Regions from separate parts of the Homo sapiens genome. Here regions 1 and 3 are each linked to region 2. The links are contacts of gene promoters, found by promoter capture Hi-C in human tissues and cell types (Jung and others, 2019). All regions are on one chromosome and are shown on one strand. The core of a region is centred on a gene start or on the middle of the fragment in contact, and the rest is flanking DNA. Distances in the headings are between cores, read along the strand shown. Region 1 holds the start of WFIKKN1 (WAP, follistatin/kazal, immunoglobulin, kunitz and netrin domain containing 1). Region 2 holds the start of NPRL3 (NPR3 like, GATOR1 complex subunit). Region 3 overlaps RAB11FIP3 (RAB11 family interacting protein 3).

Region 1 (3,559 bases), core at 628-3,127, 490 kb before region 2:
GCAGGCCCCGCAGGCAGGCCTCGGCGTCCATATAGCAGCGGTTGTAGTAGGTGAGGCCGTCCGAGGCGCAGGTGAAGCTGGGCTCCTTCTCACAGCGGTCGCGGCAGCGGCACACGGGCTGCCCGTCCCAGATGTCGCAGTCCGAGCCCTGCTGTGGGCACACAAAGCCCTCGCAGGAGGCCGCTGTCGTCGGCGCAGCTGGGCTGCCGGGGAAGCGTGCTGCCACGCAGCTGTGCAGTCCACACACGTTGATGCAGCACTTCTCAGCAGCCGCACAGTCCTGGGGATGGGGGACACTTAGGTGGGAGCCCCAATGCCCCCCGCCCCGGGGCTCTGGCCTGGCCCCTGCAAGGGGAGGCCCAGGTGGGGTAGCAGGGAGCCCCCCGCTCTGTGGCTGCCTCCCCGGGGACTCAGTGTCCTTTCCATCCTGTGTGAGGAGCCACCTCGCCAGAGGTGCCACCTGGCTTACCTTCCAGAATCCTCACACCCACAAGCAAGTTCCGTTATTCTTTACGTTGTACAGACGAGGAAACTGAGGCCCAAGGAGGGCGTACAGTGCTCAGGACCACCCAGCAGGTGGTGCGGGCCAGGACAAAGGCTGGACATCGGCTGCAGCACCCCCACCACCATCTGCACTGGTCCCGGATGGAAGGAGGGTGGGAGGACAGGGAGGACAGTGGATGGAAGGAGAGGGTGGGAGGAGAGGATGGAAGGAGAGGGTGGGAGGAGAGGATGGAAGGAGAGGCAGTGACGGGGTGGGAGAAGAGGATGGAAGAAGTGGATGGGAGGAGTGGATGGGAGGAGTGGATGGGAGGAGAGGGTGGGAGGAGAGGCAGTGAAGGGGTGGGAGAAGTGGATGGGAGGAGAGGATGGAAGGAGAGGCAATGACGGGGTGAGAGAAGAGGATGGAAAAAGTGGATGGGAGGAGTGGATAGGAGAGGATGGAAGGAGAGGCAGTGATGGGGTGGGAGAAGAGGATGGAAGAAGTGGATGGGAGGAGTGGATAGGAGAGGATGGAAGGAGAGGCAGTGACGGGGTGGGAGAAGAGGATGGAAGAAGTGGATGGGAGGAGTGGATGGGAGGAGAGGGTGGGAGGAGAGGATGGAAGGAGAGGCAGTGAAGGGGTGGGAGAAGTGGATGGGAGGAGAGGGTGGGAGGAGAGGGTGGGAGGAGAGGCAGTGACGGGGTGGGGGTGGTCGCCGAGGATGATGGTGCCCCAGGGTGGAGGCACATGGGGAGCATGAAAGCTGGAGTGGGGAGGGCTCTTATTCTTAAGACAAATGAGGGCAACGATGGGGGTGTCTCTGGGCCCCTTAAGGGGCCCAGACCCAGACCCCCCAGAAGTCTGGGGAGCCCAGGCAGAAGGTGGCACCTCCAGCAGGGTCTTGCCCAGGCTGGCTGCTCTGAGCCCCAGGACCCCGGCCCGACCACACTCACCTGGTCCCTGCTACACTCGCGCTCACAGGTGCTCTGGGCGTCCACCCACAGGTTGGGGCTGAGCTGGTTGGGGCACACGCCCGGGTGGCTCCCCAGCCCTGGCAGCAAGCCAGCCCCCGAGGTCAGCCGGAGGAGGAGCAGGAGCGGCAGGAGTGGACGTAGGGCGGGCATGAGGGCCGCCGAGCCAGGGGGCCGGGGGGTGTGGCCACCAGCCCCTCCTCGGGCTCCACAGAGCCCAGCTTCCTGCAGGCATCCACCCTCCGGGCCTGTGGTCGGTGCCCCCACCAGGACCCCGGGGCTCCCTTTTGCCCCTGAGGCTGAAGCCTGCAGCAGATGCTTGTCCTGACACCCCTGCTGGGTGGGTAACGGGGTCTCCAAGTTCTCAGAGGCCGTCTGTGTGACGCTGGTTCCTCTCCAGCTTCAGCCTGGCCCCTCTGTCTGAACCGTGCGGGGGCTCCCAGGCCCTGGTCAGCACAGGGCAGAGGGGAGGAGGTTGGGGAGGGGCCAGAGGCCCATGAGCACAGAGCCACTGGCCATGAGGGTCACCGGGGCGGGGAAGGGCTGGCTCTGGCTGGAGAGGGGGAGGGGAGGGGACCCTGTAACCTGAACCCCTTCGTCCACCCCTGGGCTGAGATCAATCTCCTTGACGACCCTCAGTAGGGTGGGGGCAGGGCCAGCAGATCCCAGCTTTTGTCCCTGGCGCCCTCTGGACCCCAGGCTCCTATGCCATGGGGGTGGCAGGCACGGGCCCTCCCCGCAGAGCGTGGCTGACCACAGCCTGGGTCCCCCGGGCCAGGTCCAGGCTGGCAACGGTCACGTGCGGCCGAGGGCTTCACTCCGCTCCGAGGTTCCTTCCCCCCTCCATGGCTGTTTCAGGGGCACAGGGGTCTGCAGGACGCCCAGCACAGCCCGGCCTCCTCTGCTCTGCTGCCCCTGTTGGAGTGGGGCCCAACCCGGCAGGACTGCATTCCCAGAGACCCCATCCCTGAAACCAGGCAGCGGGCTTGGGGCTCAGGCCTGTCCCCAAGGCGGGGCAGGTGCAGCAGGAAGAGGCCTGTGGCCACCACAAGCATAAGAACAGCCCGAAACGCTGATGCCGGAGCCTCGGCCCACGCACCGTGTAGCCCTGGACGTGGCTCCGCGTGGGATGGCACCGCCCGAGGGAAGGCCAAGTGCAAGGGCGTCTGCAGCTGAAAAGAGCAAGTGTCCCAGGGCACCAGAGCCTTGCCCTGCCCCAGCCCCCCGTCGGCGGGGCACACATCCCCAGGCTGGCTCCTCTTCGTTGGGGAGGGCAGGGGGCTGGCCTGCCTGGTGCAGCAGGACAAAAGGCTGCCTGGAATCTACCCTTCCAAACCCTCTGTGGCTCCAGATGTCTGGGGCCTCAGGGAGTGGTTCTCTTGAGACCGGATGGGAGTGTCCCCCTGACCCTGTGTCTGACCTCTGACCCAGGAGGCAGGGTAACAGGAGCCTGGTCTGGTCAGAATGAGACCCGGAGACGGCTCCAGGCGCCAGTCCCTGCTCTACAAGGAGACTGGGGGTGGGCCCTGATAGCGTGGGGGTGGGGGTAGCTAGGCCAGACCCAGCAGCAGGCGGCTGGGCTGGAGCTGCCAGGGAGGGGCTTAAGGCCCGGACATGCCCACGAAACAGCACAGGGAGGCACCTGAGCCAGAGGCTGTGGTCTGGTCCCTGTACCAACTGGAGTGCCCCGTTCCAGCTCAGCTGTGACCTCCGGGGCGTCCACACCCCCCTGGGCCGGGCATAGCAGACACCAGATTGGCCAGCGTGCAGGCGGCTCTGCTGAGCGGGCCGACTGACTGGAGGACCTGGCCCTCTGGAGTCCTGCTGCTGTTGGGGACAGTCCGCCCCAGGCCATCTGCTGCCGGGGACTGTGAGCGAGGGCTCAGCACAGCCCAGCTGGGATTCCATCCACCGGGAAGAGGAGAATGGCCGTGACCAGGCCCAGCTGCTCCAGCCCAGCTCCAGCCCTCACTTTGAGGCGAACCCAGCCAACCGCGGCAGGTCAGCCCGGTCAGCGCAGGGAACAGCAGGCAAAACAAAGGCCAGAGGTCAGTTTGCCGGGTATGAAGCAGCACTGGCCCCTGGCACGGGGCACCGCCACTGC
Region 2 (4,030 bases), core at 1,415-3,914:
ACCTTTAGTTACCTCCTGGGGAAGCCTGGGATAGGGTAGGTGGGGTGATTTTTTAAAAAACAACTTCATTGAGATATAATTTACCATACCATACCAATTTGCATACCATAAAGCTTATCCACTTCAAGTGTACACTTCCATATCTTTTTTTTGTTTTTGAGATGGAGTCTCGCTCTGTCGCCCAGGCTGGAGTGCAATGGTGCGATCTTGGCTCACTGCAAGCTCCGCCTCCCGGGTTCACACCATTCTCCTGCCTCAGCCTCCTGAGTATCTGGGACTACAGGCGCCCGCACCATGTCCAGCTAATTTTTTGTATTTTTAGTAGACACGGGGTTTCACTGTCTTAGCCAGGATGGTCTCGATCTCCTGACCTCGCGATCCGCCTGCCTTGGCCTCCCAAAGCGCTGGGATTACAGGCATGAGCCACTGCGCCCGGCACTTCCATGTCTTTTAGTGTATTCGCGTTCTCAGAGCTGTCCAACCATTACCACAGTCAACGTTAGAACATTTTCATCACTCCCCTTCAAAAAACCCATGAATCGCTCCATATTTCCCCTGACCCCCTGGAAGCCCTAGGCAGCCACTAATCATTCTGTCTCTATGGATTTGCCTATTCTGGGCATCTTATATAAATGGAATCATATATTAGTGTGTCTTCAAGATGGATTCATGTGCCGTACTTCATTCCTTTTTATGGCTGAATAGTATTCCCTTAAACAAACTATACCATATTCACCCATTCATCAATTGATATACCCTAGGATTGCTTCCACTTTGGGCTATTATGAATAATATTACTAAGAACACACATGTTTTTGTGTGGACATATGCTTTCATTTCTCTTGGCTATATATCTAAAAGGGGGATTTGCCGAGTGTTGTGTTAACTCTAACCTTTCAGGAACTGCCAGCCTGTTTTCCATAGCGAGTGTAGCCTCTTACATTCCCACCAGCAGGAGAGAGATTCCCGTTTCTCCACACCCCTGCTGACGCTTGTCTTTTTGATTACAGCCATCGTAGGAGGTGTGATGTGGCATCTATTTGTAGTTTTGATTTGCATCTCCCTAATGCCTAATAATGTTGAGCATTTTTAATTTCTGTTTTGCCCAGGCTGGTCTGGAGTTCCTGGCCTCTCAGCGCTGGGGTCACAGGCGTAAGCCTCTACCAGTTGAGCTGAGCATCTTCTGGTGCTTATTGGCCATTTGCATAATGCACTGGAAAAATATTCATATCCTTTGTGCATTTTTCAATTGTCTTTTTATTGTTGAGTTGTAAGTTTCCTCCATTCTAGATACAATTCCCTTATCAGATATGTAACTTACAAATATTTTCTCCCGTTCTGTGGGTGGACTTTTAATTTTCTTGATGGTGTCCTTTAAAGCACCGAAGTTTTTGTTTTGTTTTGAGATGGAGTCTCGCTCTGTCGCCAGGCCAGAGTTCAGTGGCACGATCTCGGCTCACTGCAACCTCCGCCTCCCGGCTTCAAGCGATTCTCCTGCCTCAGCCTCCCGAGTAGCTGGGATTAGAAGCAGGCGCCGCCAAACCCAGCTAATTTTTGTATTTTTAGTAGAGAGACGGGGTTTTACCATGTTGGCCAGGATGGTCTAGATCTCCTGATCTCATGATCTGCCCACCTCGGCCTCCCAAAGTGCTGGGATTTCAGGCGTGAGCCACCGCGCCCGGCCGCAGTAAAGTTTTTAATCTGATGAAGTTTAATTTATTCTTCTGTAGTCGCTCCTGCCTTTAGTGTCACTGCCTCGCCCAAGGTCTCAAAGATCTCCTGTCGGCTTCCAAGTGTTTTTTTTTTTTTTTTTTTTTTTTGAGACGGAGTCTCGCTCTGTCGCCTAGGCTGTAGTGCAGTGGCGCAATCTCGGCTCACCGCAAGCTCCGCCTCCCGGGTTCAAGCGATTTTCCTGTCTCAGCCTCCCGAGTAGCTGGGATTACAGGCGCCCGCCACCACGCCCGGCTAATTTTTTTTTTTTTTTTTGTAGAGACGGGGTTTCACCATGTTGGCCAGGATGGTCTCGAACTCCTGACCTCGTGATTCACCCGCCTCGGCCTCCCAAAGTGCTGGGATTACAGGCGTGAGCCACCGCGCCCGGCCTTTTTTTTTTCTTTTTTCTTTCTTTCTTTCTTTTTTTTTTTTTTGATACGGGGTCTCGTCGCTCTGTCGCCCAGGGTGGAGTGCAATGGCGTGATCTTGGCTCAATGCAACCTCCGCCTCCCGGGTTCAAGCGATTCTCCTCTAGGATTACGGGCGCCTGCCACCACGCCCGGATAATTTCTTCTAATTTTTAGTAGAGATGGGGTTTCACTATGTTAGCTAGGATGGTCTCGATCTCCTGACCTCGTGATCCGCCCGCCTCGGCCTCCCAAAATGCTGGGATTACAGGCGTGAGCCACCGCGCCCCGCCCAAGTGTTATTTGTAAAACGAAGAAACCAACATCGAGAGGGACGCTGACTCGACCCCGCGCCTTTCCCATCCGCACCAGCAAGAGGGGCCCCTGTGCCCCAAACGCGAACCGTACGGCTCCAGACAGCACCGCGGAACTCGGTGGCTTCCAGAAGGCCCCGCGCCTGCGCATTCCGCTGCCTGCGCCTGCGCCTGCGCCTGCGCCGTTCTCCCGGCCGCCGCCTTAGCACCTCCTCCGGACGGTGTCGCCGAAGTCTCGCGAGCCCGGAGCGTGGCACGTGGGTTGGTAACTGTGGCGCTGCTCCGCGTCCACCACCACCCCTGTCCTCCTCAGGCCCCCTCCGCCTCCACCCCTGCCCTCCTCAGGCCCCCTCCGCCTCCACCCCTGCCCTACTCAGGCCCCCTCCGCCTCCACCCCTGCCCTCCTCAGGCCCCCTCCGCCTCCACCCCTGCCCTCCTCAGGCCCCCTCCGCCTCCACCCCTGCCCTCCTCAGGCCCCCTCCGCCTCCACCCCTGCCCTCCTCAGGCCCCCTGCGTCCCCGCCTCGTCCTCCTCAGGCCCCCTCCGCCTCCGGCTCCGTCCTCCTCAGGCCCCCTCCGCCTCCGGCTCCGTCCTCCTCTGGCCCCCTCCGCCCCCGGCCCCGGCCCCACGGCGGGATGCGGGACAACACCAGCCCCATCAGCGTGATTCTGGTGAGCTCGGGGAGCAGGGGCAATAAGCTGCTGTTCAGGTACCCCTTCCAGAGAAGCCAGGAGCACCCGGCGTCCCAGACAAGTAAGTGAGCGCTGGGCGGGGGCCTGGCGCTCGCGGGGGCCGCCTCATTCCGGGGTCGCCTCATTCCAGGGCCGCCTCGCGGAGCTTAGCTTTTGCTGGGCATTCGAGATCTGCTCGTTGTAGAGTATTTGAAAAGTAGAAAAAGGAAAAAAAAAATTAAAATCATGCATTGTTCACCACACCAAAGCAACTACTGCTGACATTTCATCAGTCTCCAGCCTTTAAAAAATAAAGTAAAATAAAATAAAATGAGTTTGGGATGTATTCATCATGAGAAAATACAAAATTACACGAACAAGGCCGGTGGCGGTAATCCCAGCACTTTGGGAGGCCGAGGCGGGTGGATCACCTGAGGTCAGGAGTTCGAGACCAGCCTGGCCAACATGGTTGAAACTCTGTCTCTACTGAAAAAATAAAAATAAAAAAAAACAAATTAGCCGAGCGTGGTGGTGCGTGCCCATAATCCTAGCTACTTGGGAGGCTGAGGCAGGAGAATTGCTTGAACCCGGGAGGCGGAGGTTTCAGTGAACCGAGATCGCGCCACTGGATTCCAGCCTGGGCAACAGAGCAAGACTCCGTCTCAAAAAAAAAAAAAAAAGTTACGTGAACATCTGAAGTTGTCTTTGCCACCCCCAGTTCTAGCAAGCACAGGGATCACCCCTGGCCGTGTTGGGAGTTGTCTGCCCTGTGCATAGATGCAGATCTATCCACAGGAAAAGGGAACGTCGCGTGAGGTTTTTCATCGCACGAATTGTTCTGTGGCGCCCTTTTCCCATAGTCGGCCTTGGAGCTCCGTCTGCCTTTGCAAGCAGGGATCAACCTCACCCTTGGCTGCAGGCTGCT
Region 3 (3,943 bases), core at 474-2,973, 370 kb before region 2:
AGAAGTAAATGGGGGCTGACAGGCGGGCACAGGAGGCGCCACGCAGAGGCCCGGGTCTCCTGGCCCAGGCTCACCTGTGCACCAGCTGCAGGTTCTCCTGCCTCAGGCGGCTGTGTTGCTCACCGGTGGCTGCCGTGTCCTTTTCCAGCTCCAGCACACGCCTTTCCAGGAAGACAACCTTGGCAATGAGACCAGGCTTCAGGGTCAGGCAGCCAGAAGCAGAAGGGCCTGCACCCCCAAGGGAACAACCTGGGAGGCCGCCTGGGGATTTTCTCAGCACAGAATCAGATCCACCTAGCTAGGCTGGTGTTGGATCCAACTTGTCCCATAAACCCACAAAGGTGCAGCTCCTAATGGGGCCGGGGTCTTGGGGAGCACTGTCATTCGACCCACAAATGCACACAGTGCCGCAGCTCTGAGGGCTCGGGGCCCAGGGGTGCCTTTGGACTGGCTGGCTGGTGGGCAGCAAGACTCAGCCCCCCAACACACAGTTGGGTCTCTGCTCAGCCAGATGCAGCTCACAGAGGCAGCCCAGGTGCCCATGGATGCAAGGGACAGACAGATCCATGTCTCGGTCCCTCCCTCAGAGAGTTCACACCAAGATGAGAATCAGACACCTGCGGAGGTAGGAGAAGGAGTGAAGGGAGCAGAGGAGGACTTGGCCTGGGTCAGCAGACTTGAGATGCTAGAGAAGTTGTAGGGAGGAGGTGGTGGGGATGCAAGAGGAGGTGAAGTACAGGAGGAGGTGAGGAGGTACAGGAGGAGGTGAGAGAGTACAGGAGGAGATGGGGGTATAGGAGGAGGTGGGGGAGCAGGAGGAGGTGAGGGGGTACAGGAGGTGAGGGGTGCAGGAGGAGGTAAGGGGGTACAGGAGATGAGGGGGTACAGGAGGTGAGGGGGGTACAGGAGGAGATGGGGGTGCAGGAGGAGGTGAGGAGGGTGCAGGAAGAGGTGAGGGGGTATAGGAGGAGGTGAGGGGGTATAGGAGGAGGTGAGGCGGTACAGGAGGAGGTGAGGGGGTACAGGAGGTAAGGGGGGTGCAGGAGGAGGTGAGGGGGTACAGGAGGAAGTGAAGGGTACAGGAAGAGGTGAGGGGGGTACAGGAGGAGGTGAGGGGGTACAGGAGGTGAGGGGTGCACAAGGAGGTGAGGGGGTACAGGAGGAGATGGGAGTGCAGGAGGAGGTGAGGGGGTACAGGAAGAGGTGAGGGGGGTACAGGAGGAGGTGAGGGGGTACAGGAGGTGAGGGGTGCACAAGGAGGTGAGGGGGTACAGGAGGAGATGGGAGTGCAGGAAGAGGTGAGGGGGGTACAGGAGGAGGTGAGGGGGTACAGGAGGTGAGGGGTGCACAAGGAGGTAAGGGGGTACAGGAGGAGATGGGAGTGCAGGAGGAGGTGAGGGGGTACAGGAGGAGGTGAGGGGGGTACAGGAGGAGGTGAGGGGGTACAGGAGGAGGTGAGGGGGTACAGGAGGAGGTGAGGGGGTACAGGAGGTGAGGGGGTGCACAAGGAGGTGAGGGGGTACAGGAGGAGATGGGAGTGCAAGAGGAGGTGAGGGGGTACAGGAGGAGGTGGGGGGGTACAGGAGGAGGTGAGGGGGTACAGGAGGTGAGGGGGTACACAAGGAGGTGAGGGGGTACAGGAGGAGGTGAGGGGGTACAGGAGGTAGTGAGGGGGTACAGGAGGTAGTGAGGGGGTACAGGAGGTGGTGAGGGGGTACAGGAGGTGGTGAGGGGGTACAGGAGGAGATGAGGGGTACAGGAGGAATTGAGGGGGTACAGGAGTAAGTGAAGGGGTCACAGAAGGTGAGGGGGTGCAGAAGGTGAGACGGAGTCTCCCTCTGTCGCCCAGGCTGGAGTGCAGTCGTGCAATCTCGGCTCACTGCAACCTCCACCTCCCAGGTTCAAGTGATTCTCCTGCCTCAGCCTCCCAAATAGCTGGGATTACAGTTGCCCGCCACCATGCGTGGCTAACTTTTGTATTTTTAGTAGAGACGGGTTTTCACTATGTTGGCCAGGCTGATCTCAAACTCCTGACCTCAAGTGATCTGCCCGCCTAGGCCTCCTAATGTGCTGGGATTCCAGGCGTGAGCCACCACATCTGGCTGAAAAGCGGGTCTTGACCACGGCAAGGCTGCCTTGCCCTGGCTGCTGTCACCCATTCCATTCAAGGCCCCAGGAGAAGCCCGTTCCTCAGGCTGTTGGCTCTGCAGTAACTGCAGGGCCAGCCCTTTTCTCCCAAATCATGGGTGCCCCAGGTCGCGTCTCCATGGGCCTGGTGGACTGAATGTCTGGGTGTCCCCCAGCCCGACTCAGACACAGTGGGGGTGGGATACCCGAGGGTGCTCACTCACTGCCCAGTCCACTCCTCCCAGCTGGCCCTTCGTGCACAACAGGAAGACTCCTTTTTCTCACATGGCCACGAGACCCCTTGGGGAAACCTGCCAAAGAGCATCGGGGCTGGATGGACAGTCTGGGGAGCCCTGGAGGACATGGGGTCACCTCCGGCTGTGCTGTCCCCACCTCCCGGGGTGTCTGCAGCGGCCCTTAGGCGTGGCTGTGTTCTAAATCCCCTACTTGCCACCTACCCAGCCCTCCAGGGCCTACCTTGTCAGCAATGTCCTCCTCTGGGCCCTCCATGAGCTCGGGGGAAGGGTCCTCCAGGGCCTCCATGGTCAGGGCCCCTGACTGGTGCAGGTACCTACAGAAAAGGCACAACAACAGAGGGAAGAAAGGGAAAAACCACAGGACATGCTCCGTCAGCACAAGCACTCCCAAGTCAATCTGAAAAGCAGGCAGCAGCATTGCAGGGGACAGGTCCTCCCCTGATCTGGGTGGTGGTCTTCTCCCACTTAAAGCACTATATACAGGGGGAGGTCCCAGGCTGGACATCTTTACCAGGGGCTGGGAGAAAGCAGGCCGTGCTCTGTGGTCTCAGAGTCTTCCTGGCGCTCTTTGGAACCTGACAGAACATGACCTCAGTCCCAGCCAGCGAGTGGCAGAGAGGACTTTGTACTTGGCTGCAATAAAACATGCCCTTCTTCGCAGAGACACGAACAATCTCGTCTCTACCAGAGGCCTGTGAGACATCAGCTCAGGACCTTGACCTGCAGACACCTCCCCTGTGCACATTCTTGATCTCAGACTTTCACAGGTGCTTTCTGTGGCAGGAAGAGTGAGGGTCCCAGGAAAGGTGTGGATCCCAGAAGTCTCACTCAGTGTCACCCTCACGGACACACTGGGAAACTGGTCCGACCGAGTCCAGGAAGACAGCAGACACACGTGTCCTCTGTGGCACCAGCTCCTGTGGACACGCCCCCAGCACCGCAGGCCATGCCAGTTACTACCCGGGCCAGGCTCGGGGACACAGCCTCATGGTCCTGAGTAGACGCAAAGGCCCATAGGCTGCGGCCTTGGGGCAGGAGCTTCTCCAGGGAGTGTGAACTTAGGCGCGCAGTAAGCGCGTGCTTGTGGTCACCACGTGGTCAGATTCGCTGTGGTGAATCTGTACCAACCCAAACTTGCCGGGAGTACAGAAAACTCTCAGAGCACTCGCACAGAAGAGCCAACAGCAAAGGTGCGTGTTCAGTTCTTTATACATCCTGGGAACCTCAGTACCAAGCCAGGCTCCAGGCTGACAGCCTGATGCTCAGAACTGCGTGACCGTTAAAAAGCACTGGCCCTCTCCGAGCTTCCTTGCCTATGAAATGGGGGGACCCTCTCCCAGCCTCCTTGCCTATGAAATGGGGGGACCCTCTCCCAGCCTCCTTGCCTATGAAATGGGGGGACACTCTCCCAGACTCCTTGCCTATAAAATGGGGGGACCATCTCCCAGCTTCCTTGCCTATGAAATGGGGGATCCTCTCCGAACTTCCTTGTCTGTGAAATGGGGGGACCCTCTCTGAACTTCCTTGCCTGTGAAATGGGGGGACCCTCTCCCAGCTTC

The links. Contacts are between HindIII fragments. The study calls those that stand out against the background at their distance.
Region 1: a contact is called between the fragment with the promoter of WFIKKN1 here and the fragment with the promoter of NPRL3 in region 2, in 2 of the 25 tissues and cell types used here (dorsolateral prefrontal cortex and lymphoblastoid cells).
Region 3: a contact is called between a fragment that was not itself captured here and the fragment with the promoter of NPRL3 in region 2, in 1 of the 25 tissues and cell types used here (dorsolateral prefrontal cortex).

Annotation. Positions count from the first base shown.
Region 1 is chr16:629,303-632,861 of GRCh38, reverse strand. It overlaps WFIKKN1 (WAP, follistatin/kazal, immunoglobulin, kunitz and netrin domain containing 1), which reads right to left and starts at 1,877. Exons shown (of 2, transcript NM_053284.3): 1 at 1,438-1,877; 2 at 1-280. The coding sequence starts at 1,608. RefSeq lists enhancers at 1,784-2,518, 2,699-2,993, 2,519-3,252. The HindIII fragment of the contact is 11,828 bases long and covers 1-3,559 here.
Region 2 is chr16:137,307-141,336 of GRCh38, reverse strand. NPRL3 (NPR3 like, GATOR1 complex subunit) reads left to right here and starts at 2,664. Exons shown (of 14, transcript NM_001077350.3): 1 at 2,664-2,695; 2 at 3,003-3,187. The coding sequence starts at 3,070. RefSeq lists an enhancer at 2,735-2,784 and a silencer at 3,005-3,234. The HindIII fragment of the contact is 17,392 bases long and covers 1-4,030 here.
Region 3 is chr16:501,759-505,701 of GRCh38, reverse strand. RAB11FIP3 (RAB11 family interacting protein 3) reads right to left here. Exons shown (of 14, transcript NM_014700.4): 7 at 2,605-2,698; 8 at 75-178. Among named protein-coding and RNA genes, the nearest start is that of LINC00235, 24 kb to the left of the region's middle. The HindIII fragment of the contact is 7,970 bases long and covers 1-3,943 here.